Regions from separate parts of the Homo sapiens genome. Here regions 2, 3, 4, 5, 6 and 7 are each linked to region 1. The links are contacts of gene promoters, found by promoter capture Hi-C in blood cells and fetal thymus (Javierre and others, 2016). All regions are on one chromosome and are shown on one strand. Each heading gives the region's core, a stretch centred on a gene start or on the middle of the fragment in contact. The rest is flanking DNA. Distances are from core to core; before and after follow the strand shown.

The links. The method cuts DNA at HindIII sites, captures the fragments that hold promoters and counts their contacts. A CHiCAGO score of 5 or more calls a contact.
Region 2: a contact is called between a fragment that was not itself captured here and the fragment with the promoter of HSPA13 in region 1, in 1 of 17 cell types (total B cells). The highest score is 6.1, in total B cells.
Region 3: a contact is called between a fragment that was not itself captured here and the fragment with the promoter of HSPA13 in region 1, in 1 of 17 cell types (activated CD4 T cells). The highest score is 5.6, in activated CD4 T cells.
Region 4: a contact is called between a fragment that was not itself captured here and the fragment with the promoter of HSPA13 in region 1, in 11 of 17 cell types (total B cells, activated CD4 T cells, total CD8 T cells and 8 more). The highest score is 8.0, in total B cells.
Region 5: a fragment that was not itself captured here is called in contact with the fragment with the promoter of HSPA13 in region 1 in 11 of 17 cell types (activated CD4 T cells, total CD8 T cells, non-activated CD4 T cells and 8 more); the score reaches 11.0 in activated CD4 T cells.
Region 6: a fragment that was not itself captured here is called in contact with the fragment with the promoter of HSPA13 in region 1 in 1 of 17 cell types (neutrophils); the score reaches 5.5 in neutrophils.
Region 7: a fragment that was not itself captured here is called in contact with the fragment with the promoter of HSPA13 in region 1 in 1 of 17 cell types (neutrophils); the score reaches 7.1 in neutrophils.

Annotation. Positions count from the first base shown.
Region 1 is chr21:14,381,333-14,384,925 of GRCh38, forward strand. HSPA13 (heat shock protein family A (Hsp70) member 13) reads right to left here and starts at 1,814. Exons shown (of 5, transcript NM_006948.5): 1 at 1,763-1,814; 2 at 1-211. The coding sequence starts at 1,787. It overlaps LOC105369304 (a long non-coding RNA gene), which reads left to right and starts at 1,434. Exons shown (of 2, transcript XR_007067924.1): 1 at 1,434-3,593. RefSeq lists enhancers at 1,521-1,830, 2,221-2,350. The HindIII fragment of the contact is 7,322 bases long and covers 911-3,593 here.
Region 2 is chr21:14,875,739-14,879,331 of GRCh38, forward strand. The region is part of intron 1 of ASMER1 (adipocyte associated metabolic related lncRNA 1); the gene reads right to left. Among named protein-coding and RNA genes, the nearest start is that of ASMER1, 41 kb to the right of the region's middle. RefSeq lists an enhancer at 2,312-2,381. The HindIII fragment of the contact is 165 bases long and covers 1,897-2,061 here.
Region 3 is chr21:14,784,970-14,788,562 of GRCh38, forward strand. No RefSeq gene overlaps it. Among named protein-coding and RNA genes, the nearest start is that of ASMER1, 130 kb to the right of the region's middle. The HindIII fragment of the contact is 2,296 bases long and covers 506-2,801 here.
Region 4 is chr21:14,768,642-14,772,234 of GRCh38, forward strand. No RefSeq gene overlaps it. Among named protein-coding and RNA genes, the nearest start is that of ASMER1, 150 kb to the right of the region's middle. The HindIII fragment of the contact is 7,813 bases long and covers 1-3,593 here.
Region 5 is chr21:14,751,374-14,754,966 of GRCh38, forward strand. No RefSeq gene overlaps it. Among named protein-coding and RNA genes, the nearest start is that of ASMER1, 170 kb to the right of the region's middle. The HindIII fragment of the contact is 1,053 bases long and covers 1,529-2,581 here.
Region 6 is chr21:14,732,147-14,735,739 of GRCh38, forward strand. No RefSeq gene overlaps it. Among named protein-coding and RNA genes, the nearest start is that of SAMSN1-AS1, 150 kb to the left of the region's middle. The HindIII fragment of the contact is 4,170 bases long and covers 1-3,593 here.
Region 7 is chr21:14,703,883-14,707,475 of GRCh38, forward strand. No RefSeq gene overlaps it. Among named protein-coding and RNA genes, the nearest start is that of SAMSN1-AS1, 120 kb to the left of the region's middle. The HindIII fragment of the contact is 1,664 bases long and covers 1,167-2,830 here.

The sequences.
Region 1 (3,593 bases), core at 564-3,063:
TATACATCATTGTCAGTAAAAGACACCATGCTGGGTATGCTGATATGCCCATTTTCATCTGGAATCACCTTTACTTTTCCTGTGCCAGGAAAAAACACCCCAACAGAACAATAGGTGGTGCCAAGATCAATACCAATCACTTTAGGAGTAGGCAATGGTAAATACTGTTGTGCCAAATAGCCGGCCAACAGGAGAGTCAAAACAGCCGATCCTGAAATAAAGGAAAATTAAAAGATGTATTTTATCAAACTAGTACAATGTACTAAATTACTGTAGCAAAGTCCCTTTAATATCACTCGTTGAAACAAGGCTAAAAAAGACAAATTTCAAAATTTTTTATAGGACTGCTGATAGCACTCCTCTCAGACAGCAAGTTTTTCAAAATGTAAACTGGTTATAATAAAATTTAAAATGAAGTAAACACAAACAACAAAAAACCCTATAACTGTATGTTTGTGTCATTCTCTAATAAATGTAATAAAATGTAAAAATATTTCAATAATATTTGTGCAGATGCTGACAAGAAACAACATTTATCTGGAGCAAAAGCCAGATATAATCTAATATTCTTGATCAATTGATATTTAGATTTTACAGCTTTATAAAAAGCTTCGATTATCTTTTTTTAAAAGCTCCATTATTAAAATTCTCACAAGAAAAACTTTATTATTTTATAAGTCTAAAATTCTCTCCTCGTATCTCACCTCCTTTTCCCTTTCAAAAGGATGAAATGAATAAATGGGATAAAATGATTTTGAAAGTTCCTTAGATATGAAACTGTCACTTCAAAACAGAACACAGTTAACTTTTTATGTATTTAAGTATGAACTAGGGACTTCCTTCTTGCAGTGGTAATATTTAGGGGAGAAGAAGCATAAAGGTGGGCAACCCTGACGGCAACATCTATGAAAGCTTCTTGAAGACAAGTTTCGTTCACTGTTGTATCCCCCAGACCAGGAATAGCAGATGCCCAACAAATACTAATTTAAAAAAAAAAGAAAAAAGAGTAGGAACAAATGCCACGCAGATTGTAAACATAAGCGAAGAAAGATGCCCCTTTAGTTTTTAATGAATCTCGTATTTGGTATCAGGAGGCTGTGTTATACACCTGTGTCCGCTCATATTACATATGACCCAAAACATGAATTTTCAGGGCTCTGTGTTACTAATTGTTAGCTCATCCTCATCAACACATAACTCAAAGAAATAAAACCAAGTGCGAATCCCACTTTCCACTTCCAGCTACAGGCAACATTTCAGAAGCATTTCATCACCTTGGAGACGCGGGGTGGGTGTGTGTGTGGGTGGGGGATAGGTAATTCCAAACCCGATGTGATGGAAAAAGCCTCCAAATTCAGCATCCCTGAGCCGACAGATCCGGATGTAGCTCCTCCCCCTTCCTCCACAAAGGGGTCCTGGAGGTGCACGTTCTCGCAGCCTTCCATAGCTTGCCCCAATTCAACAGGCAATTCAAAAACCTAGGTGCTGTTGAAAGGAACGCCTCCCTAAGCCTGATGTCCCTGGGATGGACACAGCTGGTCGCCGTCTATCCTACCTTGGCCTGCAGGGGCCGGGGCCCTCCTAGAGGCGTCCCCGCCCCCATCCACTCCGAACAGCCGAAAACCGTCTCTAAGTCACCTTTCTGACTCCCCTTCCGCTGCTCCAGCTAGATCCAGGAGGTGAGTCAACCACCCCTGCCCACTCTGGCATCCTCAGATCGCCTCTACGCCCGCAAGAGCAACAAGGACCCCCGGGAACCCACCTAAGATCGTCATCTCTCTGGCCATCACAGTCCCGCCGAACAGGCTTGTGATGACTGTACCAGACGTGAGGCACCGCCCCCACTCCTCCCGGCAGTCCCGCAGCCCCCTGGGAAATGTAGTCCGCTTGCTCTGAGGCAATCGGAGAAGCTATCGCTCTGACCAAAGCAAGGACTTCATCTACCGTGAGGGCGCGGGGCAAAGAGCCTCCATTCAACCGCTGCCAGTGACGACTGAGTCCCCCTTCCACGCAACGGCCGGCAGGACCAGTGAGACTGAGGGGGAGGAGCGCCGTGGCGAGAGACTGGCGTTTATAATCAAACCTGTGGTCCCGCGATCCTACTTGAGGGAAAACAGGCTATCTCTTTAGCCCCGCCCCGCGCTTTGCATTCTGGGAAGCGGAGTTCCAGCCTTTCTCTTTCCGCGGGAGGGAATGAAAGGGAGGGTGAGAACCGTTAGTTATTTCTTTCTTTGGTCGTGCCCCTAATCAGGTCCAGGATTCGAGTTTGTGTTCTTTCGTTTTAATTCCTTTTAAAGCGCGTTCGTTTGCCTGAGATCTAGCTTCTAGATGGCGTTCCTATAGCCTCCCGGAGCCCCAGCCATCCTCCGTAGAAGGGTCCCTGCCGCAGTGCGGGGCCTGAGGGAAGTCGGCTCTGGCGTCCGTGCTCCAACGCTGGGAGCAGCCCTGAAACTCCAGTGACCCTCAGCCGTCTGCCTTTGTTTTGGGATAAATGAATTCAAGCATTCTTCAGTCAATTCGATTTATCCAAGGGATCAGGGACACATTTTCTCTATTGCTAGCACTGACGTGGGCCATTAAAAACAAAAACAAAAACGAAATTAAAAAGAAAACCCTTAGCTCTCTCTTCAAGTAAGTCTTAAGTGGCCAAAATTGACCTTATGGGCAAGTCCTGTAACGTGACAGCCATTTTAGGACGCTTGTGACATGCTGTTCAGGTTCTAGTCTGAAGTAGGATTTTTCTCGCATCTTGGTCACTGGTAGCACTTAATGACTCCTCTGAGAGTGGTTTTGTCATTTTTGCTGTTAGAGTTCACGATAACTAAGATCCTGGAGAATTGAATCCATTTTCTCAGCTTAGATATAAATCAAACCATCCCTGTTGACAACACGTCAGCCTGCTGTGGGAATACATTGCTGGTTATTTCTGACTTATCAATGTGAATTTTGATTATGGAAGCTGAATTCTGGTTGATAGGGATCCATTGTAATGTTCTCTCTACTTTTGCGCATTTTTAAGTATTTCATAATGCGAAATATAAAAAGTGTGTGTCTATAGTGAGTGCTGTTCAATAAGATTCTTATAAGGAGTGAAGAATTCAAGCACTTAGTTCTTAAGTATTACTTGTAATGGGCAGTGGGCTGGAGGTGTTCCAGGCAGACGGAACTCAATTACCAAGAGCACAGAAGCAAGAGATCATCTATTCCATAGATTAGAAAGTGGTGGATCATAAAGCATGAGGTAGAATTCTGAGAGACAGAACTAGAGACTTAAACCAGATTAAGATTAGCCGTCTGTGACAAGCACTGGTCATTGGGATTCTCCCTGCCACTCACTCCTTTCTCCTTGCTAACAAGATCCTGATTTGTTCAAGAAGCAGGTAAAGATTATGTGATCTCAGAGTAGAAGGCCTTTAGAATTAAGATTGAACTAAATAGGTTGTATTCATTTTCTATTTCTGCCTTAACAAATTACCACAAATTTAGTGTCTTAAACCAACTCAAATCTATTATTTTTACAGTTCGGTATATCAGAAATTTGGTATGGGTCTCACTTAACTAAAAGCAAGTTATTAGCAAAGCTGCATTCCTTT
Region 2 (3,593 bases), core at 729-3,228, 490 kb after region 1:
CATTGCAGGGCTCACTGGCAGACAAAACTCAGCGCTTTATTTCCTTTGTAGATGTTGATGCAGGTAAGTGGCATTGGGACAGTATGACGTGTTTCATGATGACAGTCACGCTCTGCTTGGTGACCTCTGACCTCCCTCTTCAGGGGCTCTGGAGGTTAACATTTTTGTACATCCACACCGGAAAGAATGTACTCAAGAGTAGAAAATGTGGGAGGAATTTAGTGAATGAATAGAACTTAGCGGGCAGAGAAAATAACTAGGTAATTTTGTCCACCAAAAACCCCAATTACCAGTTATTTACAGCCCACTGGTCTGCAACTTCGGTTGCCTAATCAGACATTCATATAAGTGCAGTCCCTTGCTCAAACAGTAATCCCTTGTCTTGACTGACTCTCAGACAAGGAAGAGCAGGCAGAGGAGATTGTAAAGCAGAAGCAAAGTAGTTGAAAGCCACTGAGAGTGGTTGAGGACATGGGTGGGTTCACATCTGTAATGTGTTGGAAGCTGAATACAGCTGTTTGGCACTTTCAACAGGCAGTGACCATGAATGGGATGTCCTGCCTCCAGGGCAGTGCAAACAGGCCTCCAGCCAGACAGCCATCTCGCTCTCCTTTTCCTCCAGCTGTGTCTGCAGAAGGGTCCCGAGTAGCATCCTGTAGTTCCAACCTGCTTACTCCTTAGGACTAGGAAACAAGAAAATCACTGCTAACCCCACTCCAAACTTGCCTGATTTCAGAGCTCAGTATCATTCTGCAGTTTGCAGTCACACTGGGAGGGTCTTTTTCTCGTATATGAGAAGGAGGACAGAATGTTGGAAGGGAACGCTCCTCGACAGATGGGAATGAGAGTGGTGTGAGTAACTAACTGGAGGCAATAAAGGTGTTAGCAAACAGCAGGAGGGAAGAGTGGGCCCCACCGATCACTGGCTGTCCCGCATGCTGTGTGTTGTACCAGTGCCAGTGGGAGCTGCCTATCCAAGCCTTGGTATTAACAGCATGTGACTCTGGCAGATTCACAATGTCCTCATTGGCTTTGTCAGTATGACAAGCTTTGACTGAGTCCCTATCCAACTGAGGGGCCACCATCCCCGTCACCCTCCTTTCTGATGCCTTTTCTCCTGATCATCCCTTCTTCTTCCTTCTTCTTTGTCTGGCTTCTTTTGTTCTTCCTTTTTCTGTCCCTCACTCCTCCTTACATTATATTCCCAGCTTCCTTTGGGATTTTTGTTTTAACATAAGGAGAACCTTACCATCGATGTCAAGCTCAGCATGATATAACCAATTACCCTAAAACCACAGCCATCTAGCCTTATCTTGTATTAAAAAAAAAAAAAAGAAAAAAAAACAGATGTTGCCTATAATTGTATATCTGCTCAGGTTTAAACATAAATTGCAGTGAGAATTCTTAAGGCAAGAATACCATTGAACCAAAATACGTTATAACAGAAAGGGGTCTCAGATGCTTATTACCTCCTCCCAACTGTATTTCATTTTACAACAAAGCAAATCACAGCTTGGAAAAGTTAAATGAGTTCCTAAGGTTCCACAATAAATAAGGGCGAAGGGGCCACTACTTAGGACCCAGATCTCCTGATCCCTATCTAGTGATTTTTTTTACTTCATGAATTTTAATGTAAAAAAAGAAAAAGAAGCCACAGATCCTCTAGACCCTTATGCAATATAGGGAAATATTCCTTAACCCCAATCGTGCTTTAATCCTTCTTCTACTGAAACAAATACAGCTAATGAATTAGAGATGCTCTTTTGTTCTCCTGTTAACTATCTGACCTTAAGGAAGTCACTCAACCAATTGGTTCTCAGTATTCTCTTTCCACACTGAGGGAAGTGGACAGATAATCTATGGTTGCTTCCAGCTCCAAAATTCAGTGACCCTTTAAGCTTAACTTCTTTCACCAGAATACCTGTCATTTCTAGGTAAATAGTGTTCTCAGTCCTTTCTGTTAAAAGAGGTTAAGTAAATAAAAAGGAAAGATCAGGCTATGCTTTTGGCCTAGATTATAACTTTGTGACCAAGGATGAAGGAATTTAATAGCAATAAGAAAGCTTCCAGGGTCTACCATTTACAATTTAAATACTTTACTTGGGAGGTTAAAAGTTCAAAGTTGAGTCACAGTCTGAGGTGGCTCTGCTCTTCCTTTTTAATTATCTGAGGTCAGGAAGTTAATAATACGAGAAATCCCCAGCGGAGACCTCTTGTGCACTGTGTGAACTTTAAACTTGCTCATTTTTTTCTTAAGGGTAAAAAGTTCAGCAGAAACACAGTGGACTTTTCCTCTTAGCCTCCACCCATTCATCCCCCAAGGTCAAAAGTTGAACTGTAAAACAGAAACCCTTGTTCTCTGATCCACATTTAAACAGATCACTTATTAAAAGGTAAACATTCCACATGCAAGCCAAAGTTCCAAGTGAATCTGCTCAATAAAAATAAAAAAACTGTAATAAAGTCTTTGATCTTTTCCACTTGTCTTAGAATTGAACAACAGAATTTATTTTCTCGTTTTTTGAATCTCAGAGAAGGGGCAGTCATATAAGCTCTTTCCTCACCTACCTCTGCCCTGAGATTGGCATATCTAAAAGAGATAAACCTAAGATATTTTAAAATAGTCAGATTTGGAGCCTTACCTTAAGGCAATTTCTTCAACTAATTCTACGCCATTTATGTTTGTTTATTTGTTTTGCTCAAACAGGAATTCAAGAACAGCAAATGTGATTTAAATCAGAGATATAAAGTACTACAGAATAAAAAGGAGTTTGCTGAAAATGGTAGAGGATGCTGTATTAGTCCGTTTTGCTGCTGATAAAGACATATCTGAGACTGGGCAATTTACAAAAGAAAGAGGTTTAGTGGACTTACAGTTCCACTTGGCTGGGGAAGCCTCACAATCATGGTGGAAGGTGATAGGCATGTCTCATATGGATGGCACAGGCAAAAAAAAAAAAATGCTTGGGCAGGGAAACTTCCTCTTATAAAACCATCGGATCTCGTGAGACTTATTTACTATCATGAGAACAGCATGGGAAAGACCTCCCACCAGGTCCCCCCGACCCACCACAACACGTGGGAATTTAATATGAGATTTGGGTGGGGACAAAACCAAACCATATCAGATGCAGAGAAAATAAAGAAATGGATGAATATATCCAATGAACCTCATATGAATAATGAATGGAAAATATCTGAGATCTTCACAGTGTTAAAGCTCAAACAAGAAGTGAAATAAATAGCTACAGAGCTCCAAATAAGTATTTAATGATAGTGACAAGACTCACTTTCTTGAAGTAATGATGGCAAACTTTAAAAGTATGGAAAAGCCATTGACCGAATACTAACCCAATCCAATCAGCATGCTTAGGAAAACTCCCTGAGATGATCACATGAAGCTGTTATTTCATGCAACCCATGTGTCCGTTTTTTTCAATGTGTACTTATTGGAAATGCTTTCACTTGTTTAAACAAGTCCTACCTGTGACTCAATATTTGTTTAAAAACTTTTTAAGAAAGCATCTTTGTCACCGTTTATCTATCTAAATGCGAATAATACCACTTGCTTCCCACCTTAATAATTTTTGTAA
Region 3 (3,593 bases), core at 404-2,903, 400 kb after region 1:
GAGTTAATGGGTGCAGCACAGCAACATGGCACATGTATACATATGTAACAAACCTACATGTTGTGCACGTGTACCCTAGAACTTAAAGTATAATAATAAATAAATAAATATAAATAAATAAATAAAAGTTTTTATGGAAACAGAAGGAAATTAAATAGCCAAACAATTTTGGAAAACAAATATAAAAGATGACTAAATTTACAGAAATCAGAAAAGGTAGTGCTAAATGTTTTTTTAAAAAGATATATGGATCAATAAAATAGAATAGCAAACTCAAATATAGAATCATACAGACGTGGTTAATAGATTTTCAATATAGATGACAAGGTAATTAAATGGGAGAAAGAAAGTCTTTTCAACAATTAATGCTGGAATAACTGAATAACTATATGGAAACAGTTGAAATTCGACCCTCACTTGACACCACACACAAATAAAACTCAATGTGGCTCATCAGGCTAACTGTGACATTTCTAGCAAAAAAAAAAAATGAGAAATCTTTGTAAGCTTGAAGAAGGCAAACTTTTCTAGACTGGACACAAAAAACATGAACTATAAACAAATGGTATATGCGAATATATTGGACCTTATTAAGATTAAAAACTTCTACTCTTCACTAAAAAATGTTAAGAAGTGAAGGAACAAGCCACAGGTTGGGTAATCCATAATCTGGCAAAGAATATATCTGCAGAAAATATAAATAACTCTTAAACTTAAAAATAAGAACATGCGCACACACACATACACACACGCAATTTAAAATGTCCAAAAGGTTTAAACAGACACTTTCTAAAAGAAGATATACCAATGACCAATAAGCACATGAAAAGATGCTATATTGTTAAGGCAGACTACACAGACTCAAAAGAATGGCTAAATTTTAAAAGACAATACCAAGTGATGAAGAGGAAACAGAGCAACAGGAATTCTCATACACTGCTGGTAGGAATACAAAATAGTACAATTACTTTGGAAAAGAGTTTGACAGTTTTTTCAAAGGGTTAAAATACATACCTACTATATAATCTGGAGATTCCACTCCTACATATTTGTTTAACAGAAATGGAAACATATGTTCACAAAGATTTTACTTGAATGTTCATAAGCAGCTTTATTCTCACAGTTTCCAAAACCTGGAAACCAGCAAAATTTCTAACCTCAGGTAAATGGTTAAAATAGAATGTGGTATACACATACAATGGAATATAACACTGCAGCAGAAAAAGATAGACTATTGATGCAGTAACATCACAGATGAATCTCAAAAATATGCTGAGCAAAAGAAAAACACAAAAGATTTCATTAAAAATTCATTTATATGAAATTTTTAAAAAGGCTAAACTATTTTATTGTGAAAAGTAAATAATTTGTTGCCTGGGCCCAGGGATGGAGGAATTGACTGGAAGTAACATACGGGTACTTTTGAGGGAGTGATGAAAGTATTCTATGTCTTAATTTGGTGGTACATAAGAGTTATACATTTTTTTAAACTCATTATATTGTATACTTAAGATGCGTGCATTTTATTATATGTAAGTTATGCTTAAACAAAATTTTAAGGGGAAAAAAGGAAAAACTTGGGGGCCATTCTCAAACTTAACAATTTGACCAAACAGGCTATGTTCTTTAAAACTTAATCCCCTCTTCTCAGTTTGAAATGATTCCCAGAAAACTCCTACTCTTTCCTCACATGTCCGTGATATTTGCCCTTTGAACTTATTCTCTTAAGAAGACACTCTACTTCTAACCTGGGATGTTCTTGTTACCATCACCACCCAACCTGCAGATCCTTCTGGGAAATAGGATATAGATTTCTAAACTATGTCCTCACTACTAACTAACTAAAACGGGTATACCGATATTCTTTGTTTTACCACTTTTACTAGATTTAACTGTGGAGAAAAAGTCATAGATGATGACCATAACCAAGAATGGAGAAAACTACTTACTTGCCCAATACTTCACAAGGGCATAAAATATGCTAACCATTCTAAGGTTTATGTCAATCTATGGGAAATGCTAAATATTTGGCTTTGGAATCAGTCTACAAAACTGAGAGTGCCCTGGATGTTAGGATGAGTTAGTGGATCTTTCTATCTCTCCTCAGAATTTATTTCTTATTCTAAAAGCCAAGACTCCACCTTTTTCTGTTAATATCTTCCTAGTTCTCATGGAAATAATAATAATGAACAAGCAAATGATTGAGTGAATGAATGACATTCCCATGGTTCTTCTAAATAGTCACTTTAATGAGAACATTCTAAGAGCAGGCTCTTACAATAGGCTAACAGGTACCACACGTATTTCTGATTTTGAACTTAAGTTGCTCACCCATACCTAGTCTATTGATCATCTTTTACAGAGAAGTAGAAAACATATTCATTTACAGATGTTCTTCACAGTTGAAAGTTCTCTTGCTTATTACCTTCAAATGTGTGAAATAATGGATGGTGACAGCAGTTCTTTCTTTGCAGAGCATTCAAAGAGATAACCTACTCTATGGTTGGCAGCCATGGCAGGTGTCTACATGGCCCATCAGAGGAAATGATAATTTCACAGTTTATACAGTGTGTTAATAGGTTTGGTTGTGAAAACAAACCACCCTAAAATCTCAATACTGTGGTTTGCAACAATAGATGCATTTTTGACTCACAAGTCTGAGAGTTGCTGTTAACTCTGCTCAGCTCTGCTCCAAGTATCTTTTTATGCTGGGACCCAGGCTAGGCAGATGAAGAATTCTATCTGCTAAAACATGGCTTATATTATGTCCATGTACATCCCCTAATAAAGTCATATGTCCAAGCTTACCAATGGCACTGTAGGTGTATTCTCTCTAGTGGATTGCACTAGTAGTCAGATGGCAAAAGGAGTGGATGTACACCTCTTGGGAAAGGAGCAGACAATTGGGAACAATAATAATTTCCACCACATGTGGTTAACTAAACTAAAAATAATCACCATGCAGAAAAAGGCCATGCTGTCCCTTGCCACTTCTCAAGTCATCTACAACTTAAGAATATAGAAAAAGCAATCATTACTCCCTTGAAATATCTGCATAGCGCCTAATATTGAGTACAAAAATGCAGGCTAAATAGATATGAAAAGAGATATGGCAGTTTCTGGAAAAAGACCTTGAGGTTGTGGCTTGTCTGCCATTCACCAGATGCACAAATCAATTACACAGCAAGCATTAAAGCCTGGAAGACAAAAAAAAAAAAAAAAATCTGATTGAATCAGGAGGGAAGCTAAATACTCTTTCATTCATCTGTTCTGAGTGAAAAATATACAAAATTTAAATGAAAATAATTTCCTCCAGCTACCCAAGTGTGATTTACTTTAATAAGGCACTAATTGATATGTTAAACTTGCTATTTTCACCACGTCTTCAAATCTTATTATACAAGTCAACTAGCCACCGAGATAACCACTGTGATCTCCTCTAAAAAGCCTACTGAAAACAATCCTGGTCTTAGCCAATTCACTTTTTGTTCATAAAAGAGAGCTAAGGAGTCCTAAATTACAAAATAATTATTTTGAAGCCCAGCCTTGAGTGCAGATAAACAGGTCCGTAAAGGTGGACTCTAGAGGTGAAA
Region 4 (3,593 bases), core at 686-3,185, 390 kb after region 1:
CACCTCTATATAAAAATGATCTATCCCGCCAGGCACAGTGGCTTATACCATAATCCCAGTACTTTGGGAAATCAAGGAGGGTGGGTCACCTGAGGTCAGGAGTTCGAGACCAGCCTGACCAACATGGTGAAACCCCGTCTCCACCAAAAATACAACAATTAGCTAGGCGTGGTGGTGGATGCCTGTAATACCAGCTACTTGGGAGGCTGAGGGAGGAGAATTGCTTGAATCCGGGAGGTGGAGGTTGCAGTGAGCCAAGATTGTGCCATTGCACTCCAGCCTGGGCAACAGAGCGACACTTCATCTCAAAAAACCAAAACAAACAAAATGATCTATCCTACACAGGATATGGCCCTATCTGCCTATTCTGTAATGAACTGTCCCAGACAATGAAGCCTGAGACAAGCCCATAGCTAGGTTTTATACTAACATATGGCATGACTCCTAAGTCTATTCTTGCCACAAATTGGTTATATATCATTGTCAGTTTATTAAAACTCATCTCAAAACACATGTATAAAATTTAAGTAGTAAAATTACACATAGATCCTAGACTTCCTTAACAATCTCAATGTGTGAAACACATTTGCCTTCATCCATGGCGTTTGATGCTTTTTTCTTCTGAACACGCATGGTCAGGACATTGGGGCAGACTTATCTGAGAGTCAGATTTCCTGAACATTAAAGGACACTGAAGAATCTCAGATGTGTTGAGGTTTATATTTTTCTACTTTTCCCGACTGGGTTCTGAGAAGCTAGCCGCTGAGTTGGAGCCATATTGAGGAAAACAGATCAGAGAAGAGAATTGGAAAGCCACTATAACACTGGGAAAAGGCAAAGTAACCCTTTTCAATATTGTCACCTTTTCCCTTGTCTTTGATCAGAGTTCTTTCCTTCTATCCCTGAGTTTTCCATTTGGTTTCTATGCCCCCCATCCACCAAAACCCACACCTAGTGCATCTTATATATAGTCTTGTCATATTGTTTGTCTTTTCAACTTCAACAAATTGGACAGAGGATGGTTTTTAAATGTTTCCATTTACAGATTCCAGTTTTCACCTTTACTATTTTGAAATATGCCAAGCACTTCATCCGTGTCATCTTCATTAGAATTAGTGATCATTACTATTCATAAAAATATTGTAATATGAAACAAATAAATGTCATCTGCAAGAAATAATATCCTAATTTGCTGAAAATTCCCTACCTTCAAAAACCGCAATTAATTTTGCACCAACCTAATAAATCAAATTCAAAAAACTTTTTTGGAAACATTACTCCCAGTGAAAACATTCACATGTTAACAATTTGCTTTCTTCTTTGGATCTCCCTTCTTACCCTTCCTTATATTGTCTTACGCTTAATTTTCATAGGTCATTATTTCGTTAAAGCAAAAAAATAAGGGATTAAAAATAAATTCATCTTTGCCTGGTACCTACAAGGAAATGCCCTAAATGTCATTAATAAGAAACTTCTTTCCGTGTCACTTTTTTTTTCCTCAGGTTTTTTCTATTGCATGAACATTATTTGATGGGGTAAGTGTAAAATAATTACAGCAACACATATGTTGCACGTAGTCCCCAAAATACGAAGCAGCAAATTTGTGCTTTTTCATAAGTAGAGAAATAGAAATAAAATAACCTAAAATAGTGTTTCCAAAATGTAAGCCCTAGATCAGTAGCAACAATACCACTAGGAACTTGTTAATAATGCAAATTATTAAGGATCTATCTCATAGATAGATCCTTAATATTCAGTATCTATCTCATAGATAGATCCTTAATATTCAGTATCTTAATATTCAGTATCTCATAGATACTGAATCAGAAATTCAGAAGTGCAGCCCAGCAGTCTGAAGTTTAAACAAGTTCTCCAGGTGATTTTCATGTACCCTAAAGTTTGAGGATCACTGACATAAAGGTGGATTTTTCTAACTAGGATAAATGAATTGTCTCTACCTGTGTCCATACCTGAAGATCTTTAAGGAGCCCTGCTTCATGACCAACGACAAAGTAACAAACTTGTTACACAAGAAGCCCAGAGTTAACTGTGGAAGTTGCCTGTTAGTATTGAGAAGATTGAAATGGGCCTGGGTATGTAGCTTATAGAGGAAAAATGAAGACTTTATCATAAAAAAATAAAAATGCAAAGACTGGTGAATCTATGCAAGTCACAATGTAACTATTTTAACACTATTATATGTTCATAACTATTAGAAATGAAACAAAAATTCATTTAAGTAAACTAAAAGAATGTCACCTGAGGATGTGTGGTAGGCAGAATTCTGGCCCCTGTAATCTTTGTCCTTAGTTACTCCCAGGAATATTTTAAATTGCATGGCAAAGGGGACTTTGAAGATATAATTAAAGTAACTCATCAGCTGACTTTGAAATAGGAAAGATTATCCAGGTGGACCTAATCTAACCACATGAGCACTTAGAATCAGAGGTTTTTCTCTGGCTGGTAGCAGAAGGAGAAGTAAGGTTCAAAGCATAAGAAGGATTAGACCTCCTATTTTGGGCTTAAAAATTAAGGGGGCCATGTGTGAGGGAAATACAGACTCTAATATAAAACTGGATTCTGGAAACTACCAGTGAGTTTGGAAGCAGATTCTTCCCCAGACCCTCTAGATAAGAAGCATTCACCCTCACTTACACCTTGATTTCAGCCTTTGTAAAGTGCTGATCTGAGAGGACCTAGCTGAGCCATGCTGTACTCGGACTCTGATTCATGGACTGTAAGATAATGAATGGGTATTGTTTTAAGCTGCCAAATTTGTGGTAATTTGTTACAGCAGCAACAGTAAACAAATACTAGGTGTTAATTTTAACTGCTGTTACAGTCATCCCACTTTGAAAAGAGCCTGCTGCCTTTGCCAGCAAAAGAACCAACTGGCAATTTAAGATTCACAACACAAGGTCTTCACCAGCTTTTGTAACATTTAGAATATCTGGATGATCCTTTTGGCTTCTACAAACAAGCACTCCTTCAGCACATTTGTCTTGAGGGCACACTCACTTTTCTTGTAGACAAGACAGCAAGATCTAATATTTACATAACCTCTGGAAACTAAAAAGAAGTACCTGTCTCTTTCTTTTGTGCTCCTGCTTCAGAAGGATCTTTCTATGTACAGGAAACTTAGCTCACATGGTGCAGGGAAAAGCCAAAAGATAGCTCCACTGCCACAGCTTGGCAGACTTTAATACGTGACATATTGTCAGACCTCAGCACTTACAGGAAAACGGAGTCTTTCAAATGTGAGTTCAGTCCAGCAGTTTTTCATTTTGCAGACAAAGATTATAGATTTAACTCTTTTTATGTAAGGGAAGTATGAAAGGGACTCATAAGTTTATGAACATGATCCACATAGTAGAGTCCCCAGTTTCTTAGAGAAGTCATGCTGACAAGGAGACCTGGAGCAAAGGGGACACGTGGTATATTAGTTTTTCAGCACGGCTGTAATGAAGTACTGTAGACTGGATGGCTTCGACAACAGAAATTTATTTCTCACAGTTCTAGAGCCTAGAAATTTACGCTCAAACTGTCATCAGGGTTGGCTTCTTCTGAAGGCCCCTCTCCTTGGCTTGTAGACG
Region 5 (3,593 bases), core at 805-3,304, 370 kb after region 1:
TCACATTTGCTGTTTGTCTGCCTGAAATACTGAGTTCTAGGTCCTCTTGTTGTTGAATATTTCTTGTTGTTTAGGTGTCAGCTCAGATGCTACCTGCTCAGAGATGCCTTACTTTACTTTCTATAGAAAAATAGCTACCTTACTCTCATTTACCAATCTCTTTCAAATAACTATAACTTATTTTCGTTTAACTAAGTATAGAAAATAATATATATTATTTATTATTTATGTCTATATATTGTGTGTGTCCTCCTATCAAACATCTCCTTGCCTATCTTGTTCATCACTGAAATCTTTGACTCTGGCTAACAATTTGCTTCACAAGAATTTGTAGATGAAAGGAGAAAAAAGGAAAAAAAAGGAGAGGAGAGAACAGGAAAGGAGAGAAGAGGAGAAGAAAGGAAAGGAATGAAAGGGGAAGGAAAAAAGAGGAAGAAAGGGAGGGAGAAAACAAATAAATAAAATACTTAGGCAATAAAATGAGAAAAAATATGAGAAACTATACTGGGAAAAAACTATCAAGGCATTGTTTTAATATCACTTCATGCTTGAATATATTTAAATACCACAAACTTGTTATGATTTAAAGGAACTCAAAAGACTATTGTTTTCGTTCTCTTGATATTTCAGTGAAGCCTGCAAAATGTATATGTGGGGAAGTGCGAGTAGATGTGTGATTTAATTTTTGTGCTTTATTTGGGTGAAACTGGAGTATGAAGAAACATAAGAGACACCCTCAGAGCACAATCAAGATGTCAGCATTCACAAACCCATGTGCTCCCCCTCTAAATTATACTCCTCCAGATGGCTTGGTTAATTTTGAAGTGGATAAAGCTAACAGTGCCAGATCACACCCAAGCAGTATAAAACTGTATAAGAACACAATAAAACAGTAATAAACAATAGACTATTTTAGTGGCATATGGCAGATACTGAGTCAGGCCAGCCTCAAATGTAATCTTTGGATTCTGTTTAAAAATCAGTGTCTGAATTATAGCATTAGCATTCAAAGCACTCCTGTAAGCAGTAAGCAACTATTCTAAAGAAGAGAAAGGAAGGGTCAGATAAAGGAGAAAAGGAAAACACAATGGTCACTGGAGAAGAAAGATAAACAAGAAATAATAAGCAGTGCTTGCATGACAATCTACAAGGGGAAATATAGAATTCATGAAAGCATTCAACAGGAAGAGATGGCAACAAGTAGACCAATATGAAGGAAATGGGTATGGGAACTCCCAGCAAGAAGGGGAGCAAAGGAGAAAGAGGAAAATACACACAAACAAAATAACAATTCCTCCCTTCTCTGAATATCTGGACATAAAATTTATTGTCTTCCATTAAAATGACAAAAATTGTATGTTGCATCATCAAAGTTGGAAATATATTGTTAAAACCTTAACTCTGCAATCCCTAAGTAAAAATTCCCTCTTCTGAACATGTCTTCACCCCTACACTAAACCCAACCATCTTCTCCTGGGAGAGGGATGTTTCAGAACAATGAGAGATCTGTTCAAATTGCTGAAATTAAAGCTTCCAAGTGAAGAGCCCAAGATATAGCCCCCTTTTATCTACTTATATCCTATTTATAGTACGCATTTCAATGTAAACAAGACTTCCTCCATACCAAGTAGAGATTGTACACCTAGACACTAAATAAAAAAGTATTTTTTCCAGAAAAATACTTTTCAAGTGAGAATTTTGTTAATGGATAGTTTCTTGATAACATGAGTGATCTGAATAAAGTTAGTTATCCACATAATTAACTATATATGGCTGAATAGGAAGTCCCAGCCTTCATTCCCACACAGAAACATGAATTGCTCACAAATGTACACACTAAACATTTTTATATGAATTCCAGACTTCAATTAAGATGTTGCAGTATTCCAAGTGTGCACAAAGTACAGAATAGTCAAATTGAATTGAGTTAAGAAGAGCAATTTCATTTACCTGCATCAGCCTCTCCCCCAAGTTAGCACAGCTCAGTGCCAAGACAGAATGCCTCTTCACATCTTTTTCCTCTGGGAGAAAAGAATAGAGCATGCCTCCAACATTCCAGCTTTTCAGAGAGCTGCCCAAGAAACAGGTCTCTTACTTCCTTGATTGGTGTGCCCACAGAACTAGCATAATTTGAATGTCTGGGGGTCACTGAGGACAATGGAAAGCAGCAGGTGGCTTGATATGGTTGGCACAGCATGGCACAATTGGGGGAGGAAGTGCACAAGTTAAGACTTCTTCCTTGGCAAGGAGGGAGAAGAGTGGAGCATGTGTTGGCATTCTGGCTCTTCAGAGGGCTGCCCAAGGGACTAGTCTCTGTCTTGCCTCACTTGGAGCACTCATGGAACTAGCATAGTTTCGATGCCTTGGAGCCACTGAGAGCAAAAGTTAAAAAAAAAGGCAGTAGGCAGTTTGCTATAGCTACCATACCTCAGTAAAATCAAGAGAAGATGCACAACTCAAGGCTTCTCCTTCAAGAGGGAAGGAGAAAGGAGCGAGAAATGAGTCTGTCATTCTAGCTTCTTGGAACACCAGCTTCTGAGAAACTGATATCTGTCTCACCTTACTCAGTGTACTGATAGGAAGCTTGCATGCCCTGGATATTTGCCAGCCACTGACAACAAAAGAGAGTGGGAAACTTGCAGCTGTAGAACCAGATAACTTGTGGTGGCACAGACAGACATCAGAAAAGATAATGAGTTCCTGAGGGGAAACAAAAAACACAGTAAGCCTCTCTGAGAAATTGCATGCACAGGCCCAGATACCCCAAAAAGTTTCAGAGGATTCCAGAATCTCTTTATGGGCTACTTAGTGGGAGTCTTATCTAAACAAAGCCAGTCTGAAGACTGGGAGAAGTGACAGATCCTAATACAAAGCCACAAGGTGCATGAAAAAACAAGGAAACATGGCTCAATCAAAGGAATAAACTAAATCTCCAGAAACTGGATCTACAAAGAGGTATGTGGACAACTTGAAAGAGAATTCAAAATAATTGTCATAAAGATGCCCACTGAGCTCAAAGAAATAACAAACGAACAGAATAAAGTATTAAGAAAGATACAGAAAATATAAAAAAGAAGTTTTGGAGCTGAAAAAGAAAATAAACTGCAAAACTCACTAGAGAAGTTTAATGGCAGACTTGATATTCAGAAGAAAACATCAGCAAACTTGAATATGAGTCATGTGAAATTATCTGCTAGAGGCTCAAAATGAAAAAAGAATGACAAAGAATAAAGAAAACCTAAGGGACATACAAGGCACCATCAAATGGACCAATATTTGCATTATTGTTGTTTCAGAAGGGGAAGAGAGAGAGAATGGGGCAGAAACATTACTTAATAAAATAATGGCTGAAAACTTCCCAAATGTAAGGATGGAAATGGACATCTAGATTTGAGAAACTCTGCACGCTCCAACTAAGATGAATTCAAAGAAATACACACCAAGCAACATCATAATCAAATTGTCAAAAGTCAAAGAAAAACAATTTTGAAAGCACCAGGAGAAAAGCAACTTGTTATGAACAAGAGACTAACACCAGATTTCTCAGAAGAAACCTTCCAAGACAGAAGAGAAGTGGGATGATATATCAAAAC
Region 6 (3,593 bases), core at 299-2,798, 350 kb after region 1:
TTTTTCTTCCAAAATACATACACAGTTCATTTTGGGTCATCATCGCTCCAAGGGTAGTTTCTGTTACTCGTGTTAATTTTAACATTTAATAAACTCTCACAGAGAAAACGAGGGTAGCCAAGTGTCTGTCATACATAAGTATTTTAGCCAATTAGCAAAGCTCATGGACACACAGAATATGTCTTTCAACAGCCACACAAATACATTTTATACTTTTTTTTTCTTTTCTTTTTTTTTTTTTTTTTTGGAGCCAGGGTCTTGCTCTGTCACCCAAGCTGGAGTGCAGTGGTAACGTGGCTCAATCATGGCTCACGGTAGCCTCGACCTCTTGGGCTCAAGCAATCCTTCCATCTCAGCCTCCTAAGTAGCTAGGACCACATGCATGCACCACCAAGCACAACTAATTTTTTAATTTTTGTAGAGATGGGGTCTACCTATGTTGCCCAGGCTCATCTCAAATTCCTGGACTCAAATGATCCTCCTGTCTTAGCCTCCAAAGTTCTGGGATTATAGACATGAGCCACCTCACCCAGTTTACACTTTCTTAATTAGACAAAAATGAATACGTCCATTAACAGGGACAAAGATCAATCCAATTTAATCAATTTAATGCAATCCACTCAGTCCATGAGCTTGGAAATTGTATTGTCTTCCAGCTGGCATATTATAACACAATTACTGTTCAAACAAAACTTTGTTAGAATAATTAAATATATACAAATGTGTCCTTTTTACAATATTAAACATTATATAATAGTAATGTTAGCTTATTTGATCAGTAAACTTGGTTAAGTTTAAGAAAAACAAACCCAAATAGAATAAAATGCATGCTTATATATTAGCATTGATAAAAAGGAGAAGACTGCTGTTGCTAGTAAACTAAAATTATAGATCTAGTTTCATTTACCAAAGATTTACCTTTGTTATAGAAATTGGAGTTCTTAAAGCATTTCCAAGTTAACTCACGTAAGAATGTTTTAATTCAAGCACATTTAAAGTATTAGAAGTTTATTTTTTATTTTTCTAGACATTTTAGTAATATTCATTTTTATGTATTTTTAATCTACTCAGAATACAGCTCCTATAACTTTAGAGGCTTTGCAGTCTAATTAAGTATCATCTAAAGATAGGAAGTTTTTTTTTTTTTTTTTTTTTGAAACAGAGTCTTGCTCTGTCGCTCAGGCTGGAGTGCAGTGGCAAAATCTCAGCTCACTGCAAGCTCTGCCTCCTGGGTTCATGCCATTCTCCTGCCTCAGCCTCCCGAGTAGCTGGGACTACAGGCACCCGCCACCGCCCCTGGCTAATTTTTTGTATTTTTAGTAGAGACGGGGTTTCACCGTGTTAGCCAGGAAGGTCTCGATCTCCTGATCTCGTGATCCGCCTGCCTCAGCCTCCCAAAATGCTGGGATTACAGGCATGAGCCACCACGCCCAGCCAAGAAGATAGTTTACAGTTAAAGTTTTTTCTGAATTATAGAAGCATAAACATACAGAGTCACCAAGAGTGTATAGTTTCAGATTTAAAACTTTAGCCACAGGTCAACTGTAAACAGAGAAACACAAAAATCTCAGTCCAGATATCAAATAGCTGCACTCCTTTCTAGTGAGCACAAAATTCTTAAGTATTCTAAGCACAAAAATAAACAAGTTAACAAACAAGCAAAAACATTAGTAAACGAGTTTACCTCTTGTCTCTTACCCAACAGAGAATATATCTCTATCTACCATCTACAGAGACCACAAATAATCAGACCATAAAAACAAATTCCCAATTATCACTACCACCAGTGCATAACTCATTGGCCATGCACAAACCAGAAACAAAAACAAAACACGAGATCATTAGAAAGGAAAAAGAATTACAGAAACAGAGGTTAAGTAAATGTATAGTTCTATTGCGGATTGTGATTCACTTCTGGGAGTCAAGAAGAGAGGTGTCTGGGCTTAGGCTGCCTATGAGGTGCACCTCTCCAGCAATGTGGCTTACCAGGCTATGTCACATGAATTTTGGGCATCTTGGTGGAAACTTCAAAACTATTAAAGGGTAATTTTTAAAAGAGGACATAATCATCACTCTCATACAAATATCAAGTGAACAGATGCTCAGAGAGCAGAGTCAAGAGTCTTGATGACATTTGTGTACCAGGTTTTCATTATTCCTGGTCCCAGATAAATTTCTGTTCTTGGGGTCTGTGAGTCACTGTGTATCTTGACAACTTCTTCTTTTTTTTTTTTTTAACATAGTTTGAGTCAGGTTTCAGTTACTTCATTTAGGAAGCATTTTTACCGGGGCCACAATGCAGCGCTACTCTAGGAGGTGCTGTCCAATACAGCAGCCATCAGCCACACGTAGCTATTTAAACTTAAATTACTAAAAATTAAATAATATTTAAAATTTGGTCACACTAGTCATATTCCAAATGCTCAATAGCCACATGGAGCTGGTGGCTACTATGTTAGATACCACAGACCCACAGGGACTTTCTCGTCCCCAAGCCATATTGTAAAGCAGAGTCTACAGCAAATAGTTGCTGAGTTTACATCTCAGTTCAGTAGACTGAGCAAGAAGCATTCTAAGAAACTTAGAACAAACTGTGATCAAAAGATGGTTACTTTAGTAATAATGTAAAAGAGAGTTTCTATATAAAAGTGGATGCAAACAAAATCATATGTCAAGTACAACCAAGATTTTTATTAGATCAAAACCAGGAAGATTTAGTGTCTGTGAGGTTGCTGTTTAAATTATTTTCTTACATTGCAATGGAAAGAAATAGATTGTATGAACCAAGTTTCTAGTATAAGAAATTGTTACGGGTTGAATTGTGTCCCCCAAAAAAGTATGTTGAAGTCCTAACCTCCAGCATCTCAGGAAGTGACCTTATTTGGGAATAGTGTCATTGCAGACGTCATTAGTTAAGATGAGATCTTGCTGGAGTAGAGTGGGCCTTTAATCCAATATAAATACTGTATTTAAGAGAAGAGACACAGAGAAAACATAGGGAGAAAATGGCCCTATGATGGTGGAGGCAGAGAATGATTGGAATGATGCATTTATAAGCCAAGGACAACCAGCAAATAGCAGAAGCTAGAAGCAAGGTAAGATTCTTCAGGTTTCAAAAGGAACATGGCCCTGCCAACACCTTGATTTCAGAATTCTTGTCTCCAGAACTGTGAAAAAAAGAAATTTCTGTTGTTTAATCCATCCAATACAATAAAATAAACATATCTGAAAGATTTTATTTAATTCATCAATTAATGAGGAAACGTCTACAATATCACAAACCTTCAAAGACTAAATCAAAGTACTACACATGTAAAAACAACAATGCTTAAATAAATGTACAAGTGAACACAAAAATGGCTTATTCTGTGGGAGTGAGAGAAGGATTTGGAGAAGGAGCTTAATTGTATTTCCAATGGGCAAAATTTACTTGTATGGCTAAGGATAAGAATCATTTGCATTGCTGTTAGTCATATACAGTTGAAAGAGTTGTAAAGTAGCTCAAAGACAACAAAAGGTACAGACAATCCATGGATAGTCGTGGAATAGGAGAACCCAGAATGTATGAGTAGACATAACCTTTTTGGTACATT
Region 7 (3,593 bases), core at 749-3,248, 320 kb after region 1:
GCTCACTGCAACCTCCGTCTCCCAGGTTCACGCCATTCTCCTGCCTCAGCCTCCCGAGTAGCTGGGACTACAGGCGTCCACCACCATGCCCGGCTAATTTTTTGTATTTTTAGTACAGACTTGGGCTTTCACTGTGTTAGCCAGAATGGTCTCGATCTCCTGACCTCGTGATCCACCTGCCTCGACCTCCCAATGTGCTGGGATTGCAGGTGTGAGCCACCGCGCCCAGCCAGGAAAGGGTTTTTAATTTGCTCTCTAAACCATGTGATGTAGGCAGCAATTCACCCTATCCACATGTGAGGAATGTGTTGTTTATATCCACTTTCCTTATAGAGGAAATAAATTGGTCATAACTCATGGGCAATTCTCTTATATTGTAGACCAGTCTTAACAGTACTTTTCAGAATCATTTCTCTGCACAGACTTTAATGAAGACTAGCCTGCGTTTCTCCATGTTGATTCTGAAATGCTCAATAGAATTCTTCTCTAGGTTCTTAGCCCAAACATACTTTTGATGTACAGAAGACTACTAACTATTTCTACTTTATGAACATGACAAGTAATTATTTATTAAAGTAGTGAAAATAATTCTGTCAAGAACAATTCATTCTCACTTTGCCCAAGCTGAATGAATATAGATAAGTCTATGGCGGTCCCCTGCATCCTTACACCTGAATACTTCCTGAAAATATTTTCTCTCTTCTTCGTTAGGGAAAAAAATATTCAATGGACACTTTTTAAAAATGGTAAAGCCGATTTTATTCAGAGGGAGACTGTTTTGATAGGTGTAGGGCTCATTGGAATGGGCCTTTGCAATGGGGGGAGAGATTTGGCTCAACTCTAAATATAACAAGAAAAAGTGGGAATTTATAGCCAAAGATTAAGATGGAGGCCAGTACATAGAAAATTACTGAAAGAAAACATAAGGGTAAAGAGGAAGTTCTGGCTAAACCAACCACACAGGATCCTTCCTGAAGACAGGCTAGGATGTTCAGACACCACCTTGGGGAGGGTGAAGGATAAAGAATTTGATCAGAAATCAAGGGTGGTGAGATACATGTTAAGGATGAATAAACTGGCCTTTTAGGATTCTTGCTAAAGTTAGACAATGCAGAGGCAACCACAGAGTCCAAGAGTTAAGGCCTAGTTGAAAAAGAGTTGAGAGAAGCTTGAGTAATGTTTGAACGAGGAGATAATCTCTGTTATTTCTCCCTCTCCATTGTCATAGTCTGAGTTGTAATATAGACTATTACAATAGTCTCCTCATTGGTCACTCAGACTCTGGTTATAGTCTTTCTTCACTCATCACACTGTCGAAAATATACATCTAACTATGTCATACTCTATTCAGAATTATTCAATGTCTCTCACATTGTCCCCACAATGATACACAGGCTCCTCCTTAGGAAGCCATGCAAGGGTTTGCTTGGTGAGGTCATTGCCTTCTTGCTCAGTCTCATAGTCCCTTCCTAGTCTTTCTCCAGAAATAAGTTACTTTATAAGCTCTACTATGCCTTGATTCTTTTGTCTAGGATATTCTCAAACTTTCCTGCCTTTAAATACTACTCATTCATTAAGTTTCAATTCAAACATTGCTTCTGTGAAGTTATTCTTAGTGTACTCCAGAAAAGTTAAATTATCTTCCTACATTTCTGTTGGACTTTACATATCCCTTTACTATAGCATATATTTTTGTAACTGTCAATGAACTAGACTTTCAATATTCTGAGGGCAACAAAAAATGTTTTCCCCTTAATTCCAATTTTCTGGCAAAAGGGAGAATATAAAAGTTCAATAAATATTACAGATTGACTGAATAAAATGCATTTAGGTAATAATTCATTTGGATGAAGATAATAGATTCTTAGAGATTGGGAAATGGGAATTGAAATACCAAATTTCTATCTACAAATATGTATTCAACAAGTATATACAGTGGCACATAGAGAACTCTACACTTGATGCTGGATAGGACATATAAATTCATTCAACACGTACTTATTTAGCGTTTACTTCACATCAGCACTATTCTGGGTATTTCAGAAACATTGCTGAAAGATATAATTTCTATCCTAAATGACTGCATGGAATTGAACTCAAGACTTCGTTTGTCATAATCTGGCCAACTCTCTCTTAATTCAAATTATCTGAATTCAAATTAAGAATATAAGAGAGGACTCTTTCAATTCATTTACCTTTTAGCAGCATAGTATAATGCTTCTCAAACTTCAGTGTGCATATGGATGCAGATTCTGATTTAGAGGCCCTCAAGTGATGCCCATGCTACTGGTCTATAAGCCACAATTTTATTACCAAGGGTTTAAGGTTCAATAACAAAGCCGACCCTTCCTAGGAATGAACCTCCCTTACATTACCAAAGCTCCAGAGTGTACTTATTAAGTCCCTCTGATCCATGGGTCAGGGTGGGGTAAACATGGAGTAAAGCTAAATATGTGGGGTGCTATGCCAGGAAAATCTAGAGACAATACTTTCTAAGAAATTTGTGTGGTTTATCTGCCTCTAAATGGAGGCAAGGAAATAAAGAAGAAGAGGTCCTTGGATGATATTGGAAGTTGTTTCAAAAAGTTGCAGTAGCAACTCTCAGGAAGTAAAAGCTGGCCACAACCTGGCCTAAGTGATGGAGAAACGAGGATCTCTAGTGAAAAACTTACTTTGAATAGATATATCCTTGCCCAGCTTCTGTAGGACAAAGCTGTATGTAGATTCCTTTGCATTTTTCACAATACTTAGGATAGTGTTCCACATAGAGGCTACATATATGTGGAATTAATGAATGAATGAATTGTCTTTATTTTACAAGATAATTGGAAGCTTTCAGGATATAAGTGAATTGTCTGACCTATTAATTATGGAAGAATGTTTACACTTTTGTTGAAATGCTATTGTTAAGCATTGAGTTACACCGGCTTGTGTAGTATAAAAAGATTTAAGAAAAGTACACATCAAATAAGCTGCCTTTTCACTGCCTGGGAAAGCTGTCATATAAGCATTGTGGTTTTCATGTTCTGTGGTGGTTGTCTGCCACAGTCCAGCAGAAGTTTAACAGTAAATAATGTTAAGCATGTGAACTGGTCGGGGGGGTGGCATTTGCATTTATATCTCATATGGTTTGTTGCCCAAGCAGAATTGAGTGGCTACATTTTTCTATTTTTTGATGTCTTATTTTGTTAATCATTCCAAACACATTTGTTCCGTTCCATAAAAATGAGCAGCTTACCTTCTACCTTTGTGAAATTACTGTTAATCATTCTCTAATGTCTGCATTATCCCATTTAAACCGTTCCCCTGTGGTTTTACAATTCCTTCTGCTCACTAATCCAACAGGAGGAATGATGTGCAAACAAGCAAATATAGAGAAACAAATAGGTTTTCTTGTGAATCGTCCTTATAAGCCTCATCAGCGACATTAGAGTTTCTCAAAATGTTATTTAAGAATCAAATAAATCTATAGATAAAGCATTCAAGCCAGTGGGCTTGAAATTAATCCAGGTGATGATATAAGCTCAATATAAAATAGAGGATGCTTTTATATCCATGAATCATCCCCGCTTCCTGCACCTAGCCTTAATCTT